Linked DNA regions of Homo sapiens: all the other regions are linked to region 1. Evidence: promoter capture Hi-C in human tissues and cell types (Jung and others, 2019). All regions are on one chromosome and are shown on one strand. Each heading gives the region's core, a stretch centred on a gene start or on the middle of the fragment in contact. The rest is flanking DNA. Distances are from core to core; before and after follow the strand shown. Region 1 holds the start of DCTN6 (dynactin subunit 6). Region 2 overlaps KIF13B (kinesin family member 13B). Region 3 overlaps KIF13B (kinesin family member 13B). Region 4 overlaps KIF13B (kinesin family member 13B). Region 5 holds the start of LOC124901922 (a long non-coding RNA gene). Region 6 has its middle 49 kb from the start of DUSP4. Region 7 overlaps PPP2CB (protein phosphatase 2 catalytic subunit beta).

The links. The method cuts DNA at HindIII sites, captures the fragments that hold promoters and counts their contacts. A contact is called where the count stands out against the background at its distance.
Region 2: a contact is called between a fragment that was not itself captured here and the fragment with the promoter of DCTN6 in region 1, in 1 of the 25 tissues and cell types used here (hippocampus).
Region 3: a contact is called between a fragment that was not itself captured here and the fragment with the promoter of DCTN6 in region 1, in 1 of the 25 tissues and cell types used here (dorsolateral prefrontal cortex).
Region 4: a fragment that was not itself captured here is called in contact with the fragment with the promoter of DCTN6 in region 1 in 2 of the 25 tissues and cell types used here (dorsolateral prefrontal cortex and spleen).
Region 5: a fragment that was not itself captured here is called in contact with the fragment with the promoter of DCTN6 in region 1 in 4 of the 25 tissues and cell types used here (aorta, dorsolateral prefrontal cortex, mesenchymal stem cells and 1 more).
Region 6: a fragment that was not itself captured here is called in contact with the fragment with the promoter of DCTN6 in region 1 in 1 of the 25 tissues and cell types used here (lymphoblastoid cells).
Region 7: a fragment that was not itself captured here is called in contact with the fragment with the promoter of DCTN6 in region 1 in 1 of the 25 tissues and cell types used here (hippocampus).

Annotation. Positions count from the first base shown.
Region 1 is chr8:30,154,622-30,158,849 of GRCh38, forward strand. It overlaps DCTN6 (dynactin subunit 6), which reads left to right and starts at 1,748. Exons shown (of 7, transcript NM_006571.4): 1 at 1,748-1,785. The coding sequence starts at 1,763. It overlaps DCTN6-DT (DCTN6 divergent transcript), which reads right to left and starts at 2,039. Exons shown (of 1, transcript NR_186490.1): 1 at 1,208-2,039. It overlaps LOC124901927 (a long non-coding RNA gene), which reads right to left and starts at 3,489. Exons shown (of 2, transcript XR_007060880.1): 1 at 3,403-3,489; 2 at 2,551-3,261. RefSeq lists enhancers at 839-1,048, 873-1,855, 1,799-1,948 and a silencer at 2,009-2,118. The HindIII fragment of the contact is 3,226 bases long and covers 326-3,551 here.
Region 2 is chr8:29,159,211-29,163,438 of GRCh38, forward strand. KIF13B (kinesin family member 13B) reads right to left here. Exons shown (of 40, transcript NM_015254.4): 13 at 1,523-1,657. Among named protein-coding and RNA genes, the nearest start is that of KIF13B, 100 kb to the right of the region's middle. The HindIII fragment of the contact is 4,467 bases long and covers 1-4,016 here.
Region 3 is chr8:29,202,603-29,206,830 of GRCh38, forward strand. The region is part of intron 2 of KIF13B (kinesin family member 13B); the gene reads right to left. Among named protein-coding and RNA genes, the nearest start is that of KIF13B, 58 kb to the right of the region's middle. RefSeq lists a silencer at 3,355-3,508. The HindIII fragment of the contact is 4,434 bases long and covers 1-4,228 here.
Region 4 is chr8:29,226,814-29,231,041 of GRCh38, forward strand. The region is part of intron 2 of KIF13B (kinesin family member 13B); the gene reads right to left. Among named protein-coding and RNA genes, the nearest start is that of KIF13B, 34 kb to the right of the region's middle. RefSeq lists enhancers at 2,649-2,698, 3,375-3,534. The HindIII fragment of the contact is 5,379 bases long and covers 1-4,228 here.
Region 5 is chr8:29,316,890-29,321,117 of GRCh38, forward strand. It overlaps LOC124901922 (a long non-coding RNA gene), which reads right to left and starts at 3,431. Exons shown (of 3, transcript XR_007060874.1): 1 at 3,346-3,431. The HindIII fragment of the contact is 3,690 bases long and covers 1-3,604 here.
Region 6 is chr8:29,397,266-29,401,493 of GRCh38, forward strand. No RefSeq gene overlaps it. Among named protein-coding and RNA genes, the nearest start is that of DUSP4, 49 kb to the left of the region's middle. The HindIII fragment of the contact is 5,026 bases long and covers 1-4,228 here.
Region 7 is chr8:30,803,729-30,807,956 of GRCh38, forward strand. The region is part of intron 1 of PPP2CB (protein phosphatase 2 catalytic subunit beta); the gene reads right to left. Among named protein-coding and RNA genes, the nearest start is that of PPP2CB, 7.0 kb to the right of the region's middle. The HindIII fragment of the contact is 4,399 bases long and covers 1-4,228 here.

The DNA.
Region 1 (4,228 bases), core at 498-2,997:
CCTGAAGAAATTCCTCCTGTGAACAACAGCCTCACCCCTTGCATGAGAGTTCCAGCTTAGTGTACAGATTTTGGACTTGCTTAGCTGGGGCTCCACAATCATGTAAGCCAATTCCTTACAATAAGCCTTTTGATATCCATCTACTACTAGTTCTGTTTCTCTGGTTGGAAACTGAGTATGTGACATCCGAGACATAAAGGGTCAGAAGGTGTTAGGGTGGGGGCAAGTGGAAGCGGTTGGGGGTGGAGAGTCAGCTTTGCTTTTTTGGAGAATGAGGGTGTGATCGAACACATAGAAAGAGAAAGAGAGAAGTAGGCAGGGGCTGGATGTAGCTCAGAGATAGGTTATGGAAAGCAGTTTGGATTTTAGATTTTAAGAGGAAGGGGAAATAACTGAATTTGGCTCTTATTTTTAATTTTTTTCCATTAAAAAAATACATTATAGAAAAAATATATAGAGACGGGATCATGCTGTGTTGACCAGGCTGGTCTCCAACTCCTGGCCTCAAGCGATCCTCCCATCTCGGCCCCCCAAAGTGCTGGGATTACCGGTTTGAGCCACGCGCCTGGCCTCAATTTGTCTTTTAAAGGATGATTTTGACTACAAGAGAACTACTTGGATCAGGGTTGGGGGTGGGAGATGAGGAGGTGTGATTTCAGAGGCCAAGTACAGAATGAGTGAACAACTGGGAGAGACACATCGGCTGAGATTAGAGAGATGGTCCGGTAGACAAAAGTGTAAGCATGAGACCCGAGGTAGGACAAGCAGAACTTGCAGATCTATTACAGATGTAGGGGTGAGGAGTGCCAGGGTGACTCTTGAGTGTCTGGCTTGAGCAGCTAGGCAAATGGTGTGGATCAAAAAAGCAGCAGGTTGCAGGGAGGACGGCAGTGTTAATCGAAAGTCATGTTCTGTAAGTTTTAGGTTCGATACGACTCTGAGCGGAGATGTCAATTAGTCAACCGAATGTCAGGTGTGAAGATCGGCACAGAGGGCAGAACCAGAGACATTCATTAGAGAGCAAACAGGTAGAGGGCACTTAACCTATAGGAAGGATGCACTCATATAGAGCGAGAAAAGGGCCAGAAGGAGCCCTAATGAGTAGAGAAAGACAGGCTGAAAAGGACATCGGCGAGGTCAGAGAAATACCTTTAGGGTGTAATTACGCCTACGCGAGTGGGTAAAATGAGGGCATAATGACGCGGACTGGATTGCAATAAACAGCTTTTATTCTTTTATCAGAGACACGATCTAGCTTTTTAGCCCAGGCCGGAGTGCGGTGGCATCCTCACAGCTCGCTGCAGCTTCACTGGGCTCAGGCGATCCTCTCGAGTAGCTGGGGTACAGGCGCAGGCCACCGTGACAGGCTTTTTTTTTTTTTTTTTTTTTTTTTTTTTGAAGAGAGGGTCTCACTATGTTACCCAGGCTAGTCTCGCAGTCTGGCACTCCTGGCCTCAAGCGATCCTCCTGCCTCGGCCTCTCGGCCTCCCAAAGTGCTGGCCTGTGCCCAGTCAATGGCTGTTCCAAATTAGGGTCTACCCATCTCTATGCAGGGCTAAAGTCCGCGGGCGGCCCCGCACCGCTACCAAAAGTACAGTCCTGTGCGCCCAGACGCGACGCAAACAAGAGTCGCAAGCTTCCGGGTCCCCGCCCCACCCCGGCTCCGCCCCTCCCCCAACCCTGCCAGGCTCTCCAATCGCATGTGGAATTATCGCTCTACCCAGGCGGTGGTGTCGATCTACGTTCCAATTGGGGCCGTACCATGGCGGAGAAGACTCAAAAGAGGTGGGTTTGCTGCTTGAGAAAAGCCTTTTCTCAGCTTTCCGTAGGGGTGGAACCTGTTCCTGGTCGCCAATGGTGGCGACTCAGAAGGTGTCTCATCCTGGGCATTCGGGCCGAAGGTACCTGAAGCCCAGACCTGGCGTCCACTGAGGGAGGGGGCGACGGAGTGGGGGCGGGGAGGGTTGAGAAGGGACGCGGAGTCGCTGCCTGGAAGGTTTTTGTTCCTGTCTGGCCGTCCCTCCCCACATGCGCCTGCGCAGAGGGGGTCTCCCGGCCGGGAGGGCGGGGGGGGCTGTGAGGGGAGGGTGACGTCAGCTTTTTCCTGGGGAAGGCCGGCTCCCTTCTCCCGCATAATCGGCGGTGCTTGGCGCCGCTGTACCCCACGGCTTGGCGCTGGATTCTCTGCTGCATGTTGCGAGACCCCCACGCCAGTGCTGGCCGCACCCCAGGCCCTTCCTGTCTCTGGAGGGTGGGGTGTGTAAAGGGATTTACGGTCGCTGTCAAAAGGGGGGCCGCGCCTGGACTTGAACTGTGACACACACACACACACATTATATAGATGCAAGGAGTACTTGCGCAGATTTGTTGCATAGATAAATTGCGTAATGGTGAAGTTGGCTTCTAGTGTACTTACCACCCAAATAGTGAACATTGTATCAGATGGGTAATTTTTCAGCCCTCAAACCCCTCCTACCCTCGCTGCTTTTAGAGTCCCCAGTGTCTGTTATTTCCCTCTTTATGTTTATGTGTACTCATTTTAGCTCCCACTTAAAAGTGAGAACATGTGCATTTGATTTTATTTCTGAGTTATCGCGTAAGGTAATGGCCTCCAGTTCCATCCATGTTGTTGCAAAAGACATGTTTCCTTTCTTTTTGATGGCTCTGTAGTATTCCATCGTATAGATACACCACATTTCCTTTATCCAGTCATCCGTTGATGAACACTTAGGTTGATTCCATACTTTGCTATTGTGAATAGTACAGTGATAGTCATAGGAGTGCAGTTGTCTTTTTAATACAATGGTTTCCTTTGAGTAGATCCTGGGTCGAATGGTAGTTCCGTTTGGATTGGTAGCTCTATATGGATTGCTGGGTCCAATGGTACTTGTGTTTAGTCCTTTGAGAAATCACCATACTATTTTCAATAGATGAACTAATTTATATTCCCACCAATAGTGTATAAGCTTAGAACTGTGACATTTTTTGCCAGGCGTGGAGTGGACAAGCTCCTTTGTAAACATGTGGGGACAGGAAGTTTGGCTTCTTCTCCGGTAGTCTTCATTGCTGGGGGCTGTTGGTGGCTGTTGGTGGCTGGGATGAGACAAGTGCATAAGTAAAGCCATTTCGAACAGCAGCAGTGTTGAGCTCCCTCTGCTGACTATTTTTGACAAAGAAAACTGACATTGTTTCTGGTGCCATAAATTAAAATGTAGATTTTTCTTCCATTTAAGTAGATACTCTGTAATCTTTTTTCATAAGCTAAAGAGGAACAGATGTACTATAAATATTATGTGCAGTAGATAGCAGTAGATAGTAGCTTACAGTGAAGATTAAGGTATTGTTGACTTGTTACTTTTACAGATCTGAGGTTAAGTCTTGCCCTCCCATCTGCCGGCTCACCTCTCTGCTCCCACCACTCCGAGATACAAGGGGTCCTTGCAGAGATATCGGGACCACGTTTTAGTTGGCCTAGTGGCCTGCCCCACTGAGAAGTGTGCTGATTGTGACGCAAGCATTACCTGGGATCTCTCCCTTGGGCGTAAAACTGAAGGCAGGGGGCATTTGTGAGTCTCTCCTACTCTCAGTTGCCCAGGACAAGTTCAATGTTAGATAATGCTCTTTTCATAATGAGAAGGAAGCTGAGGAAATGGAAAATTGCAATGAGAAATAAGGTCTAAAACAAGAGACATTTTATAGAGGCTAATGTATTTGACCAGGGCTTAATAAAATTGCATATTTTAACAAAAAAAACCCACTTTAAATGAAAAGTATCAGAGAAATGACATTTACAGCTGGTGATACATTCAAGGACAGTGTCGCTCATTTATCATGGAAAAACATCTGGAGTGACAGGATGTTTCCAGAAAACTTTCAACTAGAAGACAGATGACTGATTTCAGGACAGTGATGCCCCAGGAATGAACTCTGCTCCAAGAAATTTCTAGTCTCTGAATTTCAGTTTTTTCTTCTATAATATGAGAGGGTTAGACCAGGTGATTTTCTTCTAATCTTACTAAAATCTTTCTTCTTCAATACAGCAGGAGGGCTACATATTTTCTGTTATTTCAGTAGATTGACTTTTTTTTTTTTTTTTTTTGTGAGACAGAGTCGCTCAGGCTGGAGTGCAGTGAAAGCTTTGCACCATGCCTGGTTCCTTTTTTTTTTTTTTTTTTTTTGAGACGGAGTCTCACTCTGTTGCCTAGGCTGGAGTGCAGTGGCACAATCT
Region 2 (4,228 bases), core at 533-3,032, 1.0 Mb before region 1:
CATGATCTCAGCTCACTGCAACCTCCACCTCTTAGGTTCAAGCGATTGGCCTGCCTCAACCTCTCAAGTAGCTGGGACTACAGGCATGTACCACCACCCCGGCTAATTTTTATATTTTTAGTAGAGACGGAGTTTCATCATGTTGGCCAGGCTGGTCTTGAACTCCTGACCTCAAGTGATCTGCCCGCCTCAGCCTCCCAAAGTGCTGGGATTACAGGTGTGAGCCACCACGCCCAGCCAATAATATATCATTTTTTAATAGGCAAGGATAATATGTGTATAAGAAACCATACAGGTATCAAACAAAAAAGTGGAATGTGGGATCTTTTCTATTTGTATAGTGCTTCTGTTTACGAAGTACTTCTGTATCTCCAACCCTCACAGGAACCTGGCAAAGTAGCCAGAGACCTTCCCTCCATTTACAAAGGAATTAGACTAGAGGGGGCAAAGGGCTTGGCCGTAGACTAGAGAGACAGGTCACTCCCTCCTACCCCAGCTTTGCCGCCACTGAACCACAACACTTGAGACATGCACATATGAAGGTATGCATCAAAGACACAGCCTAACTCACAGCATGACAATACATCATATAAGATACTTATTAACAACAGGGCTTCTCAAAATGACACAGAGTCACTGACCCAGGATCTCTCCAGGCTTTTCTGAAATGAAACCACACAATTCTCTTAGAGCTGTTTCCCACATAGTCAGCCTGTTAGCTTTACTTTCCTGGTCATGTTCATTAAACCCACACATGTGAGGGGAAAGAAACTGTGTGCCAACAGTTATCAACTCTGTGTTAGAGTCGTGTAGTCCATCATATATGATAAGTAATTTGTGCTCTGGGCTTGACACAGCCCATTCTGGGCACTCCTCGAATCTGTGTGGTGTCTCAGGGTTCAGACTTATTCTGAAGTTGTCTCTTATCTTACTAATATATCCCATGATTTATAGATTTCAGTGGATACCAATATTTGTCTTCTTTTCTGTTCTGTGCTCTGACTCACTGAGTCTCTAAATAACCTATACTCTCTCTCTTTTAATAGATTGATAACCCAAATTTTTAATTTTTCCTAAGAGTTACTGGAAACATAAATTTCATACCAACTGGTCCTAAGAACTTTATTTATACATTTTTTTCTTGTGAGCTAACACACTGCTCACAAAAGAATGTGCTTCACATAAACCATAAAAGCTTTCGTATACTTACTAAATGAATCATTTAGTCTTCAAAGTCATCCATTTTTAAAGTTATCTACTTAATTCCCTGATACAAATCACGTTAAATAATGGTAGGTAAGGTATTTGACTTGTTGGAAATAATATCAGAGTATCATTTTTTTATATTGTCAGGTTGAATGGCATCAAAGACTAAAAAAGAAAACTGAGTCCAGAAACCCAAGATGGTTCTATAACTTTTTGCTGTTTTCTGAGTAAGCATGGTTCCCCAAGTTTACTAAAGTACTGTGAAATATTGTCCTATTTTGTAACAAGAATCTAGTAGCAAAGCACATTACTTCACCTTTAAATAGTACACCAGAAGCTCATTCAGAGCTGGGTCAGCATTCAGATTCACAAGGAAGCATTTATCATCCCCAACTTTGATTCCCGAAGACTGAAGAGATATTCCAAGACTCTCAAGCTGTTTCTGTCGTTCCTGTAAATGTTATCAGAGAAGTATTAATTTCACAGCTATTGAGGCAGTGAGATATCCAAGCGTTTACATTACAATGTTACAATTATTCAATAGTGTTGTAATTCAAATACATTCTCTTAGGCTATGGCATTATAGATTTATTGCATTTTTCTCTTTCCAAACTATATGATTTTTTTGTTAATTCTAATTTTATTTTGAAAAATAAAGTCTATTACATATAGTAACTAATTGTACTAGTGATTCTCAGTTTTCATTCTTGAAAATATCTGATGTCTTGAATTCATCTCATTTAACTCTGTATATATAAAAGCAAAAGTGTGTGCACTTTCCTCAACCGGGATCCTTCTTAAAAGCAAAGGAGGATCAATAAACTCTCCTGCTTGACATCTTCAGTGACCTCCCCATCAGGATAAAGGCCAAACTCCCTCAGTAAGGATCACAAGGCCCTTCAACCTGGCCTGCTTCCCCTCTGGCTTCATGTCTTCTCACTCCTGTCAAACCCAGCACTGCATGAAACAAGTTCCAGGTCCTTGAGAGTGCTAAGAATGTTCTCTGGGCTGGGTGTGGTGGCTCATGCCTGTAATCCCAGCACTGTGGGAGGCCAAGGCAGGCAGATCACTTGAGGTCAGGCGTTCAAGACCAGCCTGGTGAAACCCCATCTCTACTAAAAATATAAAAATTAGCCAGCTGTGGCAGCAGGTGCCTGTAATCCCAGCTACTCGGGAAGGTGAGGCAGGAGAATCACTTGAACCCGGGAGGTGGAGGTTGTGGTGAGCCGAGATCATGCCATTGTACTCCAGCCTGGGCGACAGAGAAAGACTCCATCTCAAAACCCCCCCCCAAAAAAAAACAAAAAACAAACAAACAAAACAAACGTTCTCTGTGTTCTCGTTAGCTGAAAAGATTTTATACCTCTTTTTTCTATCTGGAGCAGACGTGTTCTACTTCGTAACTGTTCACCGGGCCATTTCTCTCACACAGGACTGTGTGCTGTGTGGGTATGGATCCTATCTTATATACTGTTGTGTTCCCAGCACTTAGCACAGTGAAGGACACATGGTGAGCACTCAAAACATCAGTGTGGTGAATTTATCCAAAAACAAACAAATTTGCATATGCACTCAAGCGTTATTTTCATAACACGGGCCTTTCCTTTTTTGTGCCTGCCTCTGAACCCATACAATATATGAACATCTGTACATCGTAAGGATATGGGCATGGATCTCACAACCAGATGCTCTGTAGTTAGGGTACAGTCGGGGCTGGAGAGGGTATCTTCGACTATGGGTAAATAGCAAGTAGCAATGAGTCAATCACCCAAGACCTCTGATTCTGGGGAAAGGCAAGACAAACTAAGTCATTTAACTACAGCCACAAAGTAAGTTCGCAGCATAATTAAAATAAAGTTTCACAATTTTGCTATTTCTAGGCATGCCATCGTAATTTATACAATCACTGCAACTCAGCCAATATATCCTGCCTAGAAGTATACTACCACAAAATTGAAATGTGTATTTTGGTCCTGGGTCTTCAAATCAAGTCTTTAAATCCAGTTCTAACAAAAAGAACTACAGGGTTCTTTCAGAAGTTTTGAGTCATTTAATGCTAACCATCAGAGTTTTCTGCACTCAATTCCAAGAAGTGATTCTCCTTGAAAAAGACTCATGTCCATAAGATGAGGTAACTAACTATACCTTTCTCTAAGTTATCCTAGTTATCACTGTTTTACACTACTTCCCTGTGCATATTTCTGTCATTTGAGATTCTATAATGGTAAAAACGCTACAAAATTTTTGTCAAAGCCGAAAGAGGCACAATGGTGGAAAACTGTCAATTCATTATTCCGTTTGCCACCAAAAACTAAAGTTTTAAATCATCTAAAAAAATTACAAATGTTTGTAACATCTAGGAATCAGCTCATAACAAAGTACTATATGATAAAATACAGTTTACTGATATCATCAAATATTGCTTCTGATATCAGGGGTTGGTTAACTTTTCCTATAAAATGTCGGATAGTAAATATTTAGTCTTTGTGGGCCATGGGGTCTCTGTCTTATTCATTCCTGCTGCCGAAGCCATACATAATACATAAACAAATGAGCACAGCTATATGACAAAAAAATTTACAAAAGCAAGTGGCAGACCAGGTTTAAATCACATGCATTGTCTGTCAACCCCTGATCTATCTCAAGGTTTTGATTTCACTTAAGTGTGTATCTTTTAATGGGAACATAAAAGATAAAAATAAGGGACAATGTGGTATAGCAGATATGGCACTGGAATTAGAAAATACTCATCTTGAGTTCTTTCTATGCAAAAATATTACTGAGCATACAACACTAAAAGATACAGTCTTTTTTCTTAAGAACTTACAAACTCAACAGGGACTAAAACTATACATAACAATTAAACAATGGTGAAGTATTGGATGATGTAAGGGTCAAAGGGTGCAGAGGCTGCAGAGAATTCTGTGGTAGGGCCATCCGAGGGCTTGCACCCCACAGGAAGATGTTACAGAGCCCAGAGGACCCATGGAGAACCCAGCTAACTTGCAACTGCCCCCAGAAT
Region 3 (4,228 bases), core at 895-3,394, 950 kb before region 1:
TTATTTCTTTAGTATAAGAATAATTAACACTGTTTCAAGAGACAGCCAGTTCCCCTAGCAGTGGAATGTCTAAGCGGAGAGCAGAAAGCATCTGCTGGGAACTGGCACAAGGAATGTGAAGCTGCCTTAGATTCACTGTTCAACTCTTTTCACTGACAATAAGAAAAGGAGCAGTGAGCCTCCAACATCCCTATCAGTGCCACCTGTGGACCACTGGAGGCTCAGGCGTCATCTCCCCCAACTCAGCTACGTCACTCCCCTGTCCTCCATATACCTAACTTAGGTAACACCATTCCCCCTAGCAATTCTGCTTGCTTAAGGCCCACCTACAAGAGAAAGGCTCAGATCACACTTTATCTCCCTCAAGCATCCATCCACTTGAACCCTATACAAAAGTGATTTCCTTCCCCAATTCCTACATAAAGCCGAAACTGTTTCTACTGCTTATGTAGGACCACTCGGTTTGTCTCATGATAGAATAAACTTTTACATGTCATCTCGGCTAGACCATAAGCTTCTGAAGGACAAAGTGTTCTTCCTTTACGGGAATGTCCAACACAAGGCTTTTTGCTTATTCTGCAAATATTTCTTAAGCTGTTCAGGTGATCTGGCCCCTTTCTCTATCTCCAACTACATCTTTTACTGGTCTTCCTTTCACCCATGTGGGACTGACCCAGGTACCAATCTTTCAGTCTCAGGGCTTTCATACATGACTATTTCTGTCTTGGACTCTACAGGCTAACTCCTATTCATTTATTAAACTTCACTTATTCATTTATTAAACTCATGATTAAATTTCTCAGTTTAATCATGAGTTCCCTAGACACTATCTTTCTTAAACAGCCTATGTTACTCTCGAAGAAGTATTATGGGGAAAATAAAACCACTTCCACCACCATCCTCTGTCTCTAAAATCATGTCCAAAACAATAAAGAAAACAATGTTTCCATGTTCAATGAAACTTGGAGATATTTACAACTGAAACACACGACATTAAGACAGAAAATGCGCCAGGTGCGGTGGCTCACGCCTGTAATCCCAGCACTTTGGGAGGCTGAGGCAGGCGGATCACAAGGTCAGGAGTTCGAGACCAGCCTGGCCAATATGGTGAAACCCTGTCTCTACTAAAAATACAAAATAAATTAGCCGGGCATTGTGGTGCATGCCTGTAATCCCAGCTACTCAGGAGGCTAAGGCAGGAAAATTGCTTGAAGCCGGGAGGCGGAGGTTGTGGTGAGCCGAGATCACACCACTGCACTCCAGCCTGGGTGACAGAGGGAGTTCCGTCTCAAAAAAAAAAAAAAAAAAAAAAGATAGAAAATGCATCCACAGAATACAAGAAAAGACTGAAACTGGTGCCAATTACCCCAGAAGGTAGGAGGAGACCTAGAAAAGGAAGGTTGTTTGAAAAGAGCAGTTAGACATCTCCTGTGTCCAATCCCACTCAGGACAGTTGGTAGATACTGGTAATTTGCAGTCCTTGGAGAAAACTTATTTAAATGTAGAAAAAAGTTTGACAACCCCATTCTATTCGAATCTTCCACCCACACAAACAACAACTGGTTGAGAACAGAGGGACATCCAAGCAATATGGCCACTGAACCACAACTAGTATATTTCATAATCATAGGACTTTAGAAATATGAAGACTCTGATATATAAATTCCATAATTTCAAACTGTCATATACTGGGATAGCATAATTCAAAGAATACACTCAGTATTAACTCAATCACTTGCAAATCACTTGTCTTTTCTCATCTGTGAAACACACCGGCAGAATGAGTTTCATTTCATCGTCCACTTTCACTATAAGAAAGCTTAAATCTAGCCAGGTACAGTGGTGTGGGCCTGCAGTCCAGCTATTCAGGAGGCTGAGGTGGGAGGATTGCTTGAGTCCAGCAGTTCAGGACCAACACTGCAAGACCCCCATCTCTATAAAAATTTTAAAGAAAAATAAAAAGAAAGTTTAAATCTGGCCAAAGAATACTGACTCATTTGTGGAGGGTTTTTGATGAAGTATATTTCATATCCCACATTCACAGGGTAATACACACTCATTTTAATCATGGCAAATTCAAATAACTTCAAGGTATTCTATATACAGAGATTAGAATACATTACTGAGCTGAGGCCCTGGGCCAGACATCTGGCCTTCGGCCACAGACCAAAAAAAAAAAAGGCGGATTAAGATATTCTTAGACTACAAGCAAAGAAAGCTTCTAATTTTTATTTCTCTCAGTATTTGTGGTTTTCAATTTAATCCCTATTTTCCATCGTGTTTCTTGATCAGATTAATATGACTGAATTTCTGCTTGATTAGATTGATCTGGGGAAAATGTTCACTGAATATGAAATTAACTAATTTCCCCCCAGCCCTTCACCTTTTCTACACCTATATCTCCGAACCAGAGGCCACACACTCAAGGTCTACAGGCCCGACTGGGCACAGTGGCTCACACCTGTAATCTCAGTATGTTGGGAGGCAAAGGCAGGAGGATCGCTTCAGCCCAGGAGATGGAGGCTGTAGTGAGCTATGATCACACCACTGCACTCAGCCTGGGTGACAGAGCAAGACCCTGTCACCAAAAAAGTTTTTTTAAAAAAAAGGTCCACAAGCATTTTGTTCAGGCCTCACTGTATTGATCAAAAGTAGAAAATTAGAAGACATCACATTAGAAAATCTGGATTTTCAAATTCTCTTGAAAATTCAGAAGACTTGGAAATGCTAGGCTTAAGTTCCCACACAGCAGCAACAGGTAGATCTGAACAACTACCACCTCCTACTAGGCCCCTGCAGTTTCAAATTCCTCCTATTAAGAGAAAACAGAAAAGAGTTTTCTTTTCTTCAGACTTGAAGAAAAACACCGACTCACAAATTCATAGGAAAATAAGGAGAACACTTCCAAATCCAAGTCCTAAGAATCTAACAGACAGAGCCATCACAATCGTGTCAGGGCTATATTACAGATTCTACACACCCCATTACATAATACAATCTGCTTTAAGATTCCAAAACCTAATCCCAGCTAGGCTAAACAAGGAATCCCAAATTCAAATGTCCCTCGCAGCAGTAATGTCATTAGAATTAATAGCTATGAAATCAAATTAAACCTAAAGCCTTTGTCTTCACTATAACCAGTGGTAGGTCTAGAGTTTAGATCTAAGTTGGAAAGCTTGGTACTTCAAATTAAAAAGAGGCCAGGCGTGGTGGCTCACACCTGTAATCCCAACACTCTGGGAGGCTGAGGCGGGAGGATCACTTGATCCCAGGAGTTCAAGACCAGCCTGCATAACATAGCAAAACTCCATTTCTACCAAAAAAAAAAAAATACAAAACTCAGTAGGGAATAGTGGCATGCACTTGTGGTCCTCAATACTTGGGAGGCTGAACTGGGAGGATCACTTGAACTGATGAGCTTGCACTTGCAGTGAGCTATGATTGTGCCACTGAACTCTAGTCGGGATAACAGAGCAAGACCCCACCTTTTAAAAAAAAAATGAAATTAACTAATTCCCCCCACAAAAAAAGAGGCTGGGGATAGGGGCATGGTGGCTTATGTCTGTAATCCCAGCACTTTCGGAGGCCAAGGCGGGAGGATCGCTTGAGCCCAGGAGTTCCAGACCAGCCTGGCCAACATAGTGAGACCTTGTCTCTATGAAAAAATTGAAAAGAAAAACAAAAGGCATACTTGAAGTGCATGGCACACGTATGCTGACGCATGCTTGATAAATGTTAGATGCCATCATTATTGTGATTCTGTCTCATGATGCAATGTCTTGGGGTTAAGTCAGCCAGCAGGTTGAGAGAAACTGAAATTCACTATAATTACTCCCAAAATTGACTGCTTAGCGAAGATTTCCTTAACTTCCTTGAGTGAAAATTCAATTTCCAAAAGTTTCACGACTACCTATTTCACTACTCACAAGGGAAAAAACAGCTTAACTGAAGATGGCTTTGTTTATCCCTGTCCTAAGATATGGTTTTCACCTTGAAATGTCTCACAACCCCAACCTCCCTTTTTCCTTCTGATAGTCATTCATTCAGCAAATATTTACAGTCTGCCGTGCCAAGCACTAATCTAAGCCCTGGAGAGACAGCCTGGAAAAACGGGACAAAAACCTTGCCCTGCAAGAGCTTAAATTATTAAAAATAGAATGAATGAGTGAATGAATGAATGAGTAAATATGTCATATAATAGGTGCTAAGGAAATAAATAAAGCAGGGA
Region 4 (4,228 bases), core at 439-2,938, 930 kb before region 1:
AGCTTCTGTTTAAGTTTCGTTGTTAATTGTAGCTAAAGTGTAGATTTCCAAGTTGGAAAATGGAAGCAATTATTTTCATCTGTTCTTAATTTATTTATATTCTGCTCAAGGTCATCACCAAGGTCTGACTGCAAAAATTGCAACCTCAGGCATAAATGGGTTAATACTCACCCCTAAGACAGGCCATTAATTGGAAGGCAAAGTACTTTGAAATAGCTAAAGAAGGATGACCAATTACTCTTTTAGGATGCATCAGCTATATGCACAGATACATTTTTATACCATTTCTTTCAGGCTTTTGATGTACCTTATTCAATAAGGATTCAATAAGGTAGTTAACCTATTTTTATTAAATCACAACATAAAATACTTATTTCAATTATAGTCAATCCTCATCTCAAGTTATGAAATATTTAATATTTTCTGCCACTTATTAATAAAAAGCATTTTATACTAACTGCTACAGTGGTTTACACTTTATTTTTTATTTTTTGAGATGGAGTTTTGCACTTGTTGCCCAGACTGGAGTGCAATGTCATGATCTCAGCTCACTGCAACCTCTGCCTCCTGGGTTCAAGTGATTTTCCTGCCTCAGCCACCCAAGTACTTGGGATTACAGGTGCCCACCACCACACCCGGCTAATTTTTGTATTTTTAGTAGAGATGGGGTTTCACCATGTTGGACAGGCTGGTCTTGAACTCCTGACCTAGGTATATTTCAATACGTATCTGGTTTCCTTGATAATCCTATGTATTTTATGTTTTTGAAAGATTATTCTGAGAAGGAGTCCACATGATTTATCAGACTGTCAAAGGGTTCATGACCAACAAAAGGTTGCGAATTTCTGCTCCAGGCTGGCAGCAGCGGCTCACGCCTGTAATCCCAGGGCTTTGGGAGGCAAAGGTGGCAGGATCACTTGAGGCCAGGAATTCAAGACCAGCCTGGACAACATAGAAGGACCCAAAAATCTACAAAAAACTTGAAAAATTAGCTGGGCATGGTGGTGCACGCCTGTAGCCCCAGCTACTCAGGAGGCTGAGGTGGGAGGATCACTTGAACCCAGGAGTTCAAGTACATGATGAGCCATGATAGTGCCACTGCATTCTAGCCTGAGCAATAGAGCAAGACTTTAAAAAAAATTTTTTTTAAGTCTGCTCTAGAAGCTGTGTTTAGCGCCTTCAGCTACCTTTCTTTCCTGATCAACACTGGAAATTTTTTTTATAATTTGGTTTTTTTTTTTCCTTTCAAAGTACATCATTGGGCATGAACTGGAGGGCTTGTTAATTAGCAAAAGAAATGTTAGAAATAATTTTTCACTGGTAAAGTGCATAGTGTTGAAAGTGTGACTAAAATAATGACTAAAAATATGGGCCGGGCTCAGTGGCTCACGCCTGTAATCTCAGCACTTTGGGAGTCCGAGGCAGGTGGATCACAAGGTCAGGAGGTCGAGACCATCCTGGCTAACACGGTGAAACCCTGTCTCTACCAAAAAAAATAGAGAAATTAGCCGGACATGGTGGCGGGCGCCTGTAATCCCAGCTACTCAGGAGGCTGAGGCAAGAGAATAGCGTGAACCCAGGATGCGGAGCTTCCAGTGAGCCAAGATCGCGCCACTGCACTCCAGCCTGGGTGACAGAGCCAGACTCCATCTTAAAAAAATATATATATATATATATGAGATACAGGTTCCTCCATTCTTAGGACAGCAAAGTATAAGACTAACAAACCTAGCATCCTGTTCCCTGTCATTAGCTAGGGCTCTATCCAGACTTGAATTCAGATTCTATTGCATAATTTTGATCAAAAGAGTACCTGAATCCTGCTACATCTGTCTCAAGGGAAACTTCTGGGGAAGGTGCTTGTCTGAGAGCTGTGGCTTCACTGAGCTTACAGGAACAGGTGGCATGACCAATGCTGTGGCTGCTTGCTAATAAAGATGCAGCAGAACCCAGTCAAAGTTTCATTGTAACACATCTCCTGGTGGTGTGATTGGGCAGGAGAAGGCCTCAGGCTCTCACCTAACTCTAAACATAGAAGGTTGTTAATATCTTGTTACAAATGACCAAAACGGCTTAGATCAGTTCATAACACTCCCACAAGACTAATAAGGACCATGAAGGCTGGAACCAAATTCTCTTTTGTTTATCAGTGTTTTCTTAGGGTCAACATCCTGATAAACACACAGAGGGCACTCTATGGTTGTTGAATGAATTAATGAATATGATACACACTTAGCTGTATGTGGGTTTTTCCTAACTCCAGAATGTCAGCTTTAAAAAAAAAAAAAAAAAAAAAAAGCATGTCATATTTATCTTTCCCTTATCAGGACACCCTTCTGGAGTGATGTGTATCAGATGTCAATCAATAACTGCTGAATGTCTTTAGTTCTGATCTAATCTGAATTAACCAGTTACATTTTTCCAAATGTTTAGAGAAGAAACTCTTCTGTAAAATCTTAGAAGGCAATGAGAAGCTGTGAGCTCATCTAGTTTTGGAGAGACGAGCTTAGGCAGATCTGAGTTCAGATCCCTGTTCTGCCACTTTCTGATCATGTGACCCTGGGAAGCCTTGTAACACCTTTGAGTCTCATTTCCCTTCTGAAAATGTTGAGATAACAATGTGATGCCTATATCGTTTGTTGTAAGATGTCATGAGAACTTATACTCTTGCAAAGGATCTAACACAATATAAACAATACTAATGCCTATAAATAAATGCTGGTTGTCATCAATGAGAAGATCCACAAACTAAAGTCTCTATTCACTTCTTGTATTTCCAAGAATGCTGTGCTGGCTGTGTCTGCATTACTGACACCTTCTAAGCATTCAAAGACCTTGACCACGGAGTTCCTTTTCTTATGATAATGATAGTTCAAGAAACCAACTCTGAGCAATATTATGCAAATTGATGCTCTTCAGAGGAAACCCACAATCCCTTAAATAAACATCTTACAGTTGCTATCTGGGGCATCAAGAAACTACACTTAGATCTACAGCTTAAACAGCTATGATTATTGTCAATTAAAAGCAAAAGGGCATCATTTGTTATTAGAAACCTGGTATTATAATTGACTACATGTCTAACCCAGTTAATATTTATTGAGTACCTACCATATATGCCAGTGTTATTTGAAAAGAATATTACTTAAAATATGATGTTTTAATAAATAAAATTTGTTTAAGAGAGTTGACAAGAATAAATAAATCAAGGCAAAATAGCAGCTACCACCTACTAAGTAGGTACCATGTACCAGACATTTTACATAAATAACTCACTCATGCCCACGGTAATCTTGCATGATCCATATCACAGTGTTATCACCTCCACTTCATAGAAAAGGAAACAGAGGCTCAGGGAGGTGATATAAACTTCCAGATTTACACAGCTGGTAAACAGTAGGCCCAGCACTCACACCCAAGTCTGAGTCATGCTTCTCTTCAACCAACTCTTGCCTTTCCCATCCCCAGACACAGTGGTAATCATTAAACTCCCTCGCAGCACCTCTGTTCTGCAGCTTTGCTACTGCTTACGGGGTTGATCAATTTAAAAATTAACCCAATCTATAAATTGGCCTATCCTCTTCCTAATATTTAAGTTCAGTTCCTTACTATCCATACCAAGTTCTGGGGGGCAAAGGGACCAGACAGGCCCAAAAAGGCCAGGTCAACGGACAGCCAGCTCAACACACAGCAAGAGAATCCCTGAGGACACAGACAAGGGCATGCGAGAGGACGTCTTAGTGTGGATTCCTCAGAAAGCAAAGACCAAGGCTTCTGTGGGAGTGTATCCCAGGCAAGGAGGGAAGGGAGTGAGCATGAGGAAGTGTCAGATTATGAGCACGTGAAGCTGGCGTGAGCCCAGACTGAGCTGGCAACAGCCAGGGTTGAAAAGTGATCAAAGGCTCCAAGGAGAGGTGAGGCCAAGAAGACCTGAATCAGCACCTGCAAGGGGTCTGATATGGGGCAGAATGATGAAAGCAGAATCTGAAACCCTAAGTAAAGCTTCTGGAAATGGCAAGGCATAAAGTCTTGGTCCAATGCCAGAGTGTGACCTAATATTTTGTTTTTTGTTTTTGTTTTTGAGACAGGGTCTCACATTGTCACTCAGGCTGCAGTAGTGCAATCACACCATCACGGCTCACTGCAGCCTCAACCTCCCCAGACTCAGGTGATCCTCTTGTCTCAGCCTCCCAAGTAGCTGGGACTACAGGCATGCACCACCATGCCC
Region 5 (4,228 bases), core at 510-3,009, 840 kb before region 1:
CAGCACAAAATCCAGGAACGTTTTAAAACTACGCAACAGGCGGAGTTAGGTGCCCTCATATTGGCCTTACAAACTTTTCCTCACCATGACATAAATATGATGATAAAGTGATTCCTCTTATGTGGTGTAGTATTACTGATTTAGATCTTGCACATGCGAAGGGCATTACTAATGAAACCCTACTAGCTTTGTTTCTTACAGCACAAGAGCTCCTCTGTGCCTGTCATCACCCTCTTTACATCACACATATTTGCTCTCATTCTGGGCTATCTAGTCCTTATCAGAAGGGAACCTTCGAGCTGATGCTCTGGTACAAACACAGATGTGGTTTGCAGAGTCTCCTGCCTTTTTGCAAGCTCAAGCTGATCATTGTTTTTTTTTTCATTAGAACGCCCACAGTCTTAAACAACAGTTTCATTTGACACTTGCTCAAGCTCTCATGATTATTAAAACTTGTCCTGATTGCCAATGACATTCTCTTTCCCCCTTTTCCTTAGGGCTTGGTACCAACCCACGAGGTCTGGTGCCTAATGTTATTTGGCAAACTGATGTTACTCAGTATCCATCCTTTGGACGTTTCAAATTTCTCCAAGTTACCGTAGACGCTTATACAGGCTTAATACATGCTACCCCCTGGACTGGAGAAATAAACTGAAGATGCAATTGCTCATCTTTTTGAATCTCTTATGACTTTAGGTCTTCCACAAACTATTAAAACTGATAATAGACCTTGCTATCTTAGTGCTCGATTTGCACATGTATTGCAACTTTGGCACATACAACACAAAACTGGTATTCCTTATAACTCAACCAGTTATTAAACAAACTCATCAAACAAACAAAAAAGGGGGAATATGGGGCTCTCTTCTCTAGAATAGGACCTGTCATTGGAGAATTGACTGACAATGACGGTGATGACTCAGAAGGCACCTGACATTACCTGGGGACCGCTAAAGAAATTGGACCAACAGGCAACTATCCGGCTTGCCGCTGTGGAGGCCCCTGCAACTGCAGAGAATCAGTTTCTTATGTAACTGGCGGTAATTGGGGAAACTTCTGAGAAAAGTAAGACAGACACAGATGTTGGGCTGGTTGGTAATTCTTGTCCTTTGCCAAGTGAGATCAGCTCAAGAACATGTTTATTGGAGTCATATTCTAAATCCCCTTGTTTTTAATGTTATTACACAGTGGGATGCTGACCTGCCTTTGTTATCTAATGATACTTCTTGGACAGGAGGTCGATAGGTGTCCCTGTCATACCCCTTAACTGAAAATTTGGGATGGATTAAACTTAATGACTCCTTGATTTTATTGTTTAGTAATCCCCTCTTTGTTTTTCCACAATAGCACATGGTAAGTGTGTTACTCTCATTCCTCAGGAGTATCTTAACTATCAGCCTAAAAGGGATGCTAAGCTTGCAAACTTGACCTTTATTTCTGCTGTTACTACTAATCTTACTAAGGTCTCTCATGAAGCTGTACAAGTGCCTGATCTTCCTATATGCCGTCCGAGTGGGGACTGGTGATATAAGTTTGAGGCTGTCCAGTGGTCTCCATGCAGACAATCTGCACCATGTCAAGGGCCTCTGTTTAATAATGGCACCTTACTTGATTGGGGTCCCCATGGTTATCTTACGTCTGCAAATCAGACTATATTGGGTTTGGGAGTCCCTCCAATAGTTCTATCACCTGGTCAGAGTATGGGCTTTCAGGACCAATATTACAACTAAAAGGGAAACAAGCTTTAAGCCCTGTTCATACCCAGATTTGGAGATTAGGACTTCCTTTTTTTTTTGAATGAGTTCTTTCACATGGTGAGTACATTACTAAGGGCAGCACCTATACCCTCTCTTTGCATAATAATGTTACTGACACAGTCCTGATTTGTACTATGCACCCCTATATACTTTTGTTTGGGCGAGGTGTTCCTAACATAAAACAGAATCAGACCTTTTATAGTATTAAAGTCTCTTCCAGTACTTGGTATGCTACATGCTTGTCTTATCAAAACGTTACACAGTTAAGTATAACCTACGTCATGATCTTAAAACGGCATGCAGAAATGTGGCTGCCTGTAAATTTAACCTGGAGCTGGGAAGGAAATTCCACCCAGCAGCTATTTAGAAAAGCACTGTCTCATGCTCAGAAAAAAAGATTTCTGGCCACTTTAATTGACTTTTTAGTCTCAGCTATTATCATACTAGCAACTGCTGCTACTGCAGCTGTCTCTCTAACAGGATCTATTCACATAGCCTCAGTGGTGAACCACATGGTATATAATGTAACCCATGAATTTCAGGAACAGGTAAATATTGATAAAACTATTCTGTCTCACCTGGAGGCTCTTGAAGCCGCAGTTGAATGGCTGGGGGGTCAGCAGCAGGCATTCATTACCCATCAAAATTTACATTGTGATTGGCAATATAATCCTATCTGTGTCACACCTCTGCCATATAATAGCTCCCAATATGCTTGGGAGAGAGTGAAAGCACACCTGCAAGGGGCTTATCACAACCGTATTTCTTCTCAAATTTCTACTCTTGAATGTGAGTTAAAGAAACAACTTGAAGAATGGTCGCAGCAATTACAAGCAAATACCCTTCAGCAATTACAAGAGGGCTTTGTGGTTAAACATGAACACTTGGTTGTCTGGGTGATACTGTAATGCCCAACCTGGTTTTTACTAACCCTGTTTTTAGACTCTCCCTTTCCTTTAATCACCTAGCCTTGTTTCCACCTGAATTGACTCTCCCTTAGCTAAGAGAGCCAGACAGACTCCATCTTGGCTCTTACACTGGCAGCCCCTTCCTCAAGGACTTACCTTGTGCAAGCTGACTCCCAGCACATTCAAGAATGCAATTAACTGATAAGATACTGTGGCAAGCTATATCCACAGTTCCCAGGAATTCGTCCGATTGATAACGCCCAAAGCCCCGGGTCTATCACCTTGTAATAGTCTTAAAGCCCCTGCACCTGGAACTGTTTACTTTCCTGTAACCACTTATCCTTTTAACTTTTTGCCTACTTTACTTCTGTAAAATTGTTTTAACTAGACCCCCCCCTCCCCTTTCTAAACCAAAGTATAAAAGAAAATCTAGCTCCTTCTTCGGGGCCAAGAGCACTTTGAGCGTTAGCCGTCTCTTGGCCGCTGGCTAAATAAACGGACTCTTAATTCGTCTCCAAGTGTGGCGTTTTCTCTAACTCGCTCAGGTACAACAATACATACACATTTGGGTGTTGGCCGCTATACTTACTCTTTTTTGTGTCTGTTTGCTAGGTGTCTGCAGATGGCTCTGTGCTGCCACCCGGCACATCTATGAACAGGGAAGAATGATAGAACCTTACCTTGCATTGGATGACCAGCACGCTCTAAGAATTGAAGAAGGGGGAGATGTGGCGGGGTGCACATCAACGTATTCAAGCTTACGTACATGGCATTTGAGGTCGGGGCATGGAAAAATACTGAGGCACTGTGTGTATGTTATTTTTGCATAAGAATGTAACTCCTTGACCCTGAAAACAGGACAAGGGGTGGAGTGTGTAATAAGGAACGCTGAAAACAGCCTCCTGAGAATGCGGTTTGAGTGTTTTACAACGCCGTAAGTGCCTAAAGTAACCGACCTCAAATGGCCATCTAGTGGATGTTTGTGGTTTAACAAGTCCTTTCAATACTTAGAGGACCGATGCTGGAGTAGCACTCTCTCAGAAGAGCTGTCACCCCGACCCCCACCCCGCTCAGCTGGAACTGTCTGAGAACTCATTCTTAGCGTTCACTGCAAGCTATAAGCTTTGCATTACTCCTAATATCATAGTGGGCATACACCATATGTGTATACACTGTAATATTACTCGTTATATCCTAGGCAGATATTATGAGTAATATCACAGTGGTTATATGTTCTGTGATATTACATGTAATGTCCTAGAAACATATGATGCCAAATATCACAGTGGCTGTACACCCTGTGATATTACTCCTAAAGTCCTAGGGAGATATTGCTGGTAATATCAAAGTGGGTGGACACCCTATAATATTACTTCTAATATCCTCGGGAGATATTACTCCTAATATCACAGTGGATGTACACACTGTGATATTACTCATAATATCCAAGATAGATATTACTCCTAATATCACAGTTGGTGTACACCCTGTGATATTACTCATAATATCCAAGATAGATATTACTCCTAATATCACAGTTGGTGTACACCCTGTGATATTACT
Region 6 (4,228 bases), core at 985-3,484, 760 kb before region 1:
TATTTTATTTTCACAATTAAAAATTACAATTCTAAGCTAATAATGTGCTTAGCAATGTTTCCATTTTACGTAAGTTTCCTAGTGACATCTAGGAAGGGCCTATTAGTCTCATCCATAAATTTTTCCTCATTCACATTTCTGGGGGGCGATTTCATTTATTAGTTCAACAAATAGTTGTTAATGCCTATTTCTGCCAGGTATAAACAAGGCAGGTAAGATCCCTGACCTATTGGAGTTCGTATTTCTCTGAGTTGGTTTAGGGTTAGCTATAGTAATTGAGACTCAGCAATAATTTGGTGGTTAAAGTTAGAACTGTGTTCCTCTCTCATATAATAGTCCAAAGAGACACTCCAGTTGGCAGGCAGCTCTGCTCCACACCAGCTATCAAGGACCCAGTTTCCTTCTACTGGGTTACTCCACCATCAACTATGGTCTTGTCATTGCTACATGGTTGAAGCTTGGGTGGTGAGTAGGTTTGCTGGTAGGAAAGACAAAATAATTCAGAAAAGGCATGGCCACTTTCTAACGCTCAAGCCTAGAAGTGACACATGTCATTTCCATTCACAGTCTGTTGGGTGAGAACTGAGTCACATGACACTCTGAACCATAAGGGAGTCTGGGAAATGCGGTTGGCTTCTGTGCCCAGACACCAGTATGAAATGGTAGGCAGTGAACAACCTCAATTACAACATTCTGATGGGAGACATAATAGCTTATTACCTGCTTCTCTGCATACAAACCTCTTCCTGTCACTGTGGGGTGAAGGATACTAAAGAAAAAAAAGGATTATCTCTTCCATAAGGAATCTGCATCTTATTAGAAGAAATACTCTCTGTGTGGATACAGACACAAAGCTACAAGTATGACAGAGAATGCTGTAAATGCCCAAAGCACAAAACACACAGAGTTCAAAGGGCAAAGGGTTATAACATGCTATGATGGCCCTGTGGGACAGTAACCCTCCTAGACCCTTTCCTGTGCAACATTAGCTCTGCTCTATTGCTGTTCATGCCTTTCATCATTCTCTGCGCAATATCAACTCACCTATATTTTGTCTGCACTGAGAAACAAATCCTCTCTCTGTCACCCCCCTATGGAACGTTCGACACCTTTATAATGTTCCCCATCAGTAGGGTGAAGGAGGGGTCCTTCTTTAAATTGGGGCTGCAGGCATAAGCCATGATTGTACCTGGCAAATGGATTGTACGGTCACACTACCAAGGGATATGACGCTGGGATGTCACTGGCTCCTAATGGAGGAATCACCTGGGATTCTGCCCCTTCTCCCTTGTACCGGTTGTGCCTTCTCAACAGGTTTCCTACAGGTAGCTGACTCATAGCTTATAGATTCATGTTAATTTCTATTAAAAAGAAATTTTTACTGGGATTAGATATACTGGTTTTTTTTGGCTTGTGTGTGTGTGTCCTTAAGTCATTCAATTTACATTGAAATATTGAAGGTAGAACTTAACTTTTGGTCCTATAGTCTTTATATTTTTCAGTACAACAATGCCTCGTATAAATGACCTGAATTACTTCATTCTAATTTCTCTACTCATAAAATAAACAGGATATAACCTACTTAAACAAAAACCGATCACACAAATGCAAGACATCTTAATTTTTTTTCTTAGTTATTGTTATTTGGTAGGGGTGGGGTGGGAATGAAGGTACAGGGAAAAAGGGAAAAGCTGTGGGAGTATAGTACATATTCTCATGGACTCCTTTCAGGAACAGAGTGGAAGAATTTACAGAACATATCAAGCAAGTTGGAATTTAGCCAATGTGCCTTGCTCTCTCTTTATATCGGTGGGAAAATGTTCATTTTGAACACAAGTGCCTTATATGCTGACATTTTTCACTGCTGTGGAATATAGGAAATGTGCTTTGTTTGTCATTTTAAAAAGTTATAAATTCTGTGACCTTGAGACCTTCAGCACAAAGATGTAGAAAAGAGAGAGTGGGAACTCCCAAGTCCCCTGAAGTCACTTGCTCAGTCCTTTAGGGGCTGAGATGCCCTCTTTGTGTCTGGGGAAGATGGCAGCTGATGTTAGTAGCCCTTGATTTTTAAATGCGACCAATGGGATTTTTTTTTAAATCCCTGCATTCTCTTTGCAAAGCTTCCCAGGCTGTTTGGGGTTTTAGAAAAAGATGTTAAAACCAACAACTTTTTATTTGTTCAGAGTACTCTTAACGACAGCTTACCCGTGATCCACTTAAATCCTAAATGATAAAATTCATTCCTTTATGTGAATGTATTGCTAGCTCTCTTATGGGATGTGGGGTATAGGAGTTTAGGATAGAACTAGATGGAGCCCAAGATACCAGCTGTTACTTTGCTGGCTCTAAAAAGTCAACTGCTTTAGAGCCCAGAGGCATAGAATATAAGAGTTTGAGTCCCTGGAAACTTTGAGTAGTGTTTACTCACCTACGAGACAGGCACCCTTTTTTCCACAATATGTGGACAATGATAACAGATAAGAGTTGTTCAGTGCACCACGTAGTATGCACTGGGTTAATTTTTTTTATATCCTCTCATTTATACCTCACAAAAACTCTATAAGGAAGGCGTTATTATCCTTATTTCATGGATGAGGAAATAGAAACTTAAAGAGATTAAAAATCTTGCCCAAAGTCTCAGTTAAATAATTGGCTGCACCAGGAATTGGGTCCTCATCTATTTGACTCCAAAGCCTTGCCTTTCATGGGTTTACTTTCCCAAATAGTGATAAAAAGGAAAGTGAGCCCAATTCTCGCAAATGCTATCAATACTTTGTGTGATGTACTGGGGGACTGCACCTTCAAATAGTGCTAAACAATACGCTTTGCATTGCTTCTGCTTGTGGCATCCCTGGATTTCCTTTAGCCTTCCAAAGGGAGTTTACCTTAAGGGATATAAAGCAGTAAAATAAGCTGAATGTTTCTTTCTTTGGAGGGAGTGTTGAGTGGATATCAACTGGCAGTGAAGGGTTGCAGATGACCTTGTTCAAGGTTGGAACTTCTCCATCAGCAGTGGGCCACGGAAGATCCTATGGTTGGTATGGTTGACTGTGACCACTTCTTTTCTGGAAAAGCTTGACCTCAATCCATCCAGATTAGGAAAAGTCTACTTTCTGAGGGGATCTTAGAGAATCTCCTGTACTGCGGGAATCAGATATTTACCTACCTCGGCCAGGCACAGTGGCTCATGCCTGTAATTCCAACACTTTGGGAGGCCGAGGTAGGTGGATCACTTGAGGTCAGTAGTTCGAGACCAGCCTGGCCAACCTGGTGAAACCCCGTCTCTACAAAAATAGAAAAATTAGCCAGGTGTGGTGGTGCACGCGTATAGTCCCAGCTACTCGGGAGGCTGAGGCAGGAGAATCACTTGAACCTGGGAAGCAGAGATTGCAGTGAGCTGAGATTGCACCACTGCACTCCAATCTGGGCAACAGAGGGAGACTCTGTCTCAAACAACAACAACAAACAACACCAAAAACAGATATTTGCCTACCTCAAGACAGCTAAAAAATTGTAGCTCTATTTGTTGAAGGATGCTAAATAAAAAATATTCAGAATATTCAGAATATCAAGCTATGGATTCAGGCTGGCAGATTCTTTAAAAAGAAATTATCTCTTTCTGGGCCAATTTCATATTGAGGTTAAGTCAGATATGACCAATGAATGGTCTGTGATATCCATCTATCCTGTCTGGGCAGAGTGAGTACTTGAAATAACTAATTCTGGTTATGGGATTAAAGTTACTTTTATTTTTTAAAGAATATTTAAAAATCTTTTCTATATTTGGTATGTGTTATTTTAACAATTATTAAAATAGAAGTATTATTAAAGATTTACGGCCAGGCATGGTGGTTCACGCCGTAATCCCAGCACTTTGGGAGGCTCAGGCAGGTGGATCACTTGAGCTCAGGAGCTCGAGACCAGCCTGGCCAACACGGTGAAACCCTGTCTCTACTAAAAATAAAAAAAATTAGCCAGGTATGGTGGCGCATGCCTGAAATCCCAGCTACTCCAGAGGCTGAGGCAGGAGACTTGCTTGAACCCGGGAGGCAGAGGTTGCAGTGAGCTGAGATCACGCCACTGCACTCCAGCCTGGACGACACCGAGACACTGTCTCAAAAACAAGATTTACATCTTCTCGATTCAAAACTAAAACCTCTTTGCCATATATTGGAAGTGGTGTGTGTGTGAATGTGAGATTGTGAGATCTCCCATTGTGATTATCATT
Region 7 (4,228 bases), core at 839-3,338, 650 kb after region 1:
CACATATCACAAAGTAGAAAATAAGACCTTAAACATTTTTAAATGGCTAACTTTTGGAGAATTTATACAACCAAGAAAAGACAAAATACAATTTTTTTTTTTTTTTGAGACGGAGTCCTGCTCTGTCGTCCAGGCTGGAGTGCAGTGGCGCGATCTCCATCTCAGCTCACTGCAACCTCCGCCTCCTGGATTCAAGTGATTCTCCTGCCTTAGCCTCCCAAGTAGCTGGGATTACAGGCGCGTGCCACCACACCCAGCTAATTTCTGTATTTTTAGTAGAGATGGGGTTTCACCACGTTGGCCAGACTGGTCTCAAACCCCTGACCTCGTGATCCGCCCGCCTCGGCCTCCTAAAGTGCTGAGATTACAGGCATAAGCCACTGTGCCCAGTTGACAAAATACAAACTTAAAACAAAAAAAGAATATGCCAACTCAACTGGAAAAATCCCTCACATTGCACACACTCCACAATTCTGATAAATCTAGCCTTGTTTTCTTCATGTATTTTGGTATTGCCATTTATTATTATTAAGGTTCTCGTCCCTCAGAATTTGCTATGGAATAAAAATCTGTATAGTGAAGAATTAACCTCACCCGAGGAGAGGTCTGGCCTTTGCCCCTGGAATTTCCTGCTTGGTAAAGAGATCTCTGCCTGGGGGCTCTGACCTGCGGACCATTAACAATGTGACTCACGATGCGGACTTTGGATGATCCCACTATCAGTTTGGTCTCTGGAGGACTGGACACTACAGATGTCAGCCCCTCTTGTACTCTGCCCTTATGAGTCTTTTCCCTTGGCTTACTTTAAATTGTATTCATTCCCTGTAATAAACCATAATCATCAGTGTAACAGCTTAAAGTGAGTTCTGTGAGTCATTCCTGTGAATCACTGAACCTAAGAGTGGTTTTCGGAACCCACTGAACTAGTATATTGGTGCCAAAACTGAGGCAGTCCTGGGCAGTGTTCCCTGTAATTTATAGTTCACTGAACTTTATTTTTTGTCTGCTGTTCTGAAGGTACATCATGACTAAACTTTTGAAGATGGTGTCAGAGGTGAGAACAGTGTTAGGGACTGTGCCTTCTAACTCTCGCAAAATCCTTTTTAATTACAAAAGTAAACCACATTATAAAGAATTTGGAAGGTTTTCTATGACCACCCTATTAAAAAAAAAAGAGTCTCTTGAATTCAAGCCCATCACTGTCCCCATCTTCTGCTTTTTCTTGCCAGCAAGAATCAATGCCTGGTGTTCATTAATCGTGTCCCCTCTTCACAGCTGAATCTCTAGCACTTTGAACAGTCTGGTACATAGTGGTTCAACTAAAATCTGTTGAATGTACGGGATAACTACACAGTGGCAGCATTCTGTCAACCAATCCTCTCCTTTCTTCTTCACTGCCCACAGGAACAAGCGCCTCTTTTGCTACTCAAGCCAAGTCGAGAATACACTGAACCAATTCTGAGCTCTCATCATCCAGGACATAAATATCATGCGGAACTCTTTTAAACGAAGATGAAAATTATTTCCCTCTCTATAAGATGGGATTTTGAGCTGGGCGCAGTGGCTCACGCCTGCAATCCCAGCACTTTGGGAGGCTGAGGCAGGCAGGTCACAAGGTCAGGAGATCCGAGACCATCCTGGCTCACATGGTGAAACTCCATCTCTATTAAAAACACAAAAAATTAGCCGGGAGTGGTGGCAGGCACCTGTAGTCCCAGCTACTCGGGAGGCTGGGGCAGGTGAATGGCATGAACCCGGTAGGCGGAGCTTGCAGTGAACCGAGATGGCACCACTGCACTCCAGCCTGGATGACAGAGAGAGAGACTCCATCACAAAAAAACAAAAAAAAAGAGATTTTGAGCAAAATTAAACTACAGCCTACACACCGTATCCTGCATATTAAAAAAAATCCAACTATGCTAAAAAGTTAATTCAAATAAGCTTTTTTCTAAGATTGAATAGGTGAGAACACTTAAATTCACCACTGTATCCCAGTCTCAACATAAAAACGATTGTCTTTGTATAAAATATTCACTTAATAGATCTCCAATGGAGTCTTCCACATTTTTGGTGTAACATGATGCTATTATAACGCAAGTCAGGAATCTCAGGTTGCACCTCAGGATTGTCTTTTAATTCATTTGATCACAAAAGTATCTCAGTCAAAAAACAGTTTACAAGGAATGATGATAAATATTTCTAAATTACAAAGGACACAACAGCAAACCAGTTCTAAGCTTGAGTGCTTGAGCTCTCCCATTCTCTGGAAAGGAAACGGAATCTGTAATACACAGAACTCCTTCCCAGGGTTAATATGATTTTTTTTTTTTTTTTTTTGAGATGGAGTCTCCCTCTGTCACCCAGGCTGGAATGCAGTGGCGCGATCTCGGCTCACTGCAAGCTCTGCCTCCTGGGTTCACGCCATCCTCTTGCCTCAGCCTCCCGAGTAGCTGGGCCTACAGGCGCCTGCCACCACGCCTGGCTGATTTTTTTTTTTTTGTATTTTTAGTGGAGACGGGGTTTCACCATGTTAGCCAGGATGGTCTGGATCTCCTGACCTCATGATCCGCCTGCCTTGGCCTCCCAAAGTGCTGGGATTACAGGCGCGAACCACCATGCCCGGCCGTTAATATGATTATTAATGAAATTTAGAGTTGAAAAGTAACGTACAGGAACTATTAGATCACATTTGGTCATTAAGGAAGAAAAGATGTCTTCATACAAGTTTCTTTAAACAATCTGGATTAGGTTTACATTTCATTACATTTACTTGAAGGAAATCAGTTCAAAACAATAAAAAATTTCTATTTAACACAGACTCAGATTTCTTATACAGATTACTTCTGTAACTTTAATATCATTCTTCTTAGAAAAAACTACATTCAGAAAACAATCTAGGAAAATTAATTAAGCATTAATTCCATCTTCAATTTCTGGCATTTTCATTTCCTTTTACCAAGGAAGGGCTTCATTCACCAAGTCTTTTATAACATTCGTACTGAAGAGAAAAGACTGTGAAGAAAAAATTTCTGCAAGATCTTCAAATAAGAATAAAAGGCACACACGGCAATAAAAGCAGGCAATGAAAAGAAATTTTACATTGCAAATATCTTCACTTTATCTACTTAGGTAAATATCTTATGGCAAGGGTATATTATTGTTAAAGGGCAGTATTAAGTATTAAATATATTTACCTAGTCATATATATTTGACACGTCATATATAAAGTAGAGAAATGTAACAAAGTCCACTTTCCCGCCATTAGCAATAGTTCATGCTAGTCTAGTTTGGTTTAATTTCTTTACCTGTCCACTAAGAGGCTGGCTTAGCAAGGAAAACAATGATTTGTTCAGTCACTAGAATTGGGTCTTGACCCTCTATTTCACTGTAATCATGCCATTCTTCATTATACTAAGAAAGGAGCTATTTTATCACTGCATTTTAGATTTTATCAATGGACCACCAAAGCTGGCACTAATTTTTGTTCGAGGGAAATTAAAAATGGAAGTACCAGTTAGGCATTTTGCCTGTCAAGACCACTATTTTTATTTTTTAAGCTGTAATCAATCACAGAAAGTAATCTAAAAAAATTTTCTCAATTCACAAAAATCACTCATTTTTACCAGAATCTAATCTTCATTAAGATGGTTTTGGGTATTCAGGAACAAGCATACTATTTCACATTAGGAATGAAGTCATATCCTAAAGTTATTTCTGCTTATTTCAAGGCTAACGCCAGGACTTAGAAACATTTCCATCAGTTCAATATAAAATTTACATATTTATACTTCTACACAAGCCTCGACATTTTTCTCAATACGTACTTTATAATCATCAGAATAAAGATCTGCCAGCACACACATTGGCTGAATTTCCCTCCCCACCTAAAGAATCATCACCAAGGTTCTTCAGTTATAAAATTTAACAGGTCAAAGAGCTTAAAATTTTTACTCTTTCTGAGACAACAGTTAAATATAGTTCTAGTCACAGAGTGTCCTGAGCAGTGCCAGCCTGGCTCTCTTGGCACACAATCTTCTAAAATAACTGCATACTGCTGATGCAGGAATGAATCACAGAAGCAATTTCTCTGCACACACAAGAGGAGTCAAATTCACAATTAGCTTCAAAAGCTGGATTGCTAATTTAAGCTAGTGTTAAGAGCTAGTCTTCTCAGAAGACATGCCTTGCTATTTTATGCAAACAATTTTTCACTAGGCAGAAATTAACC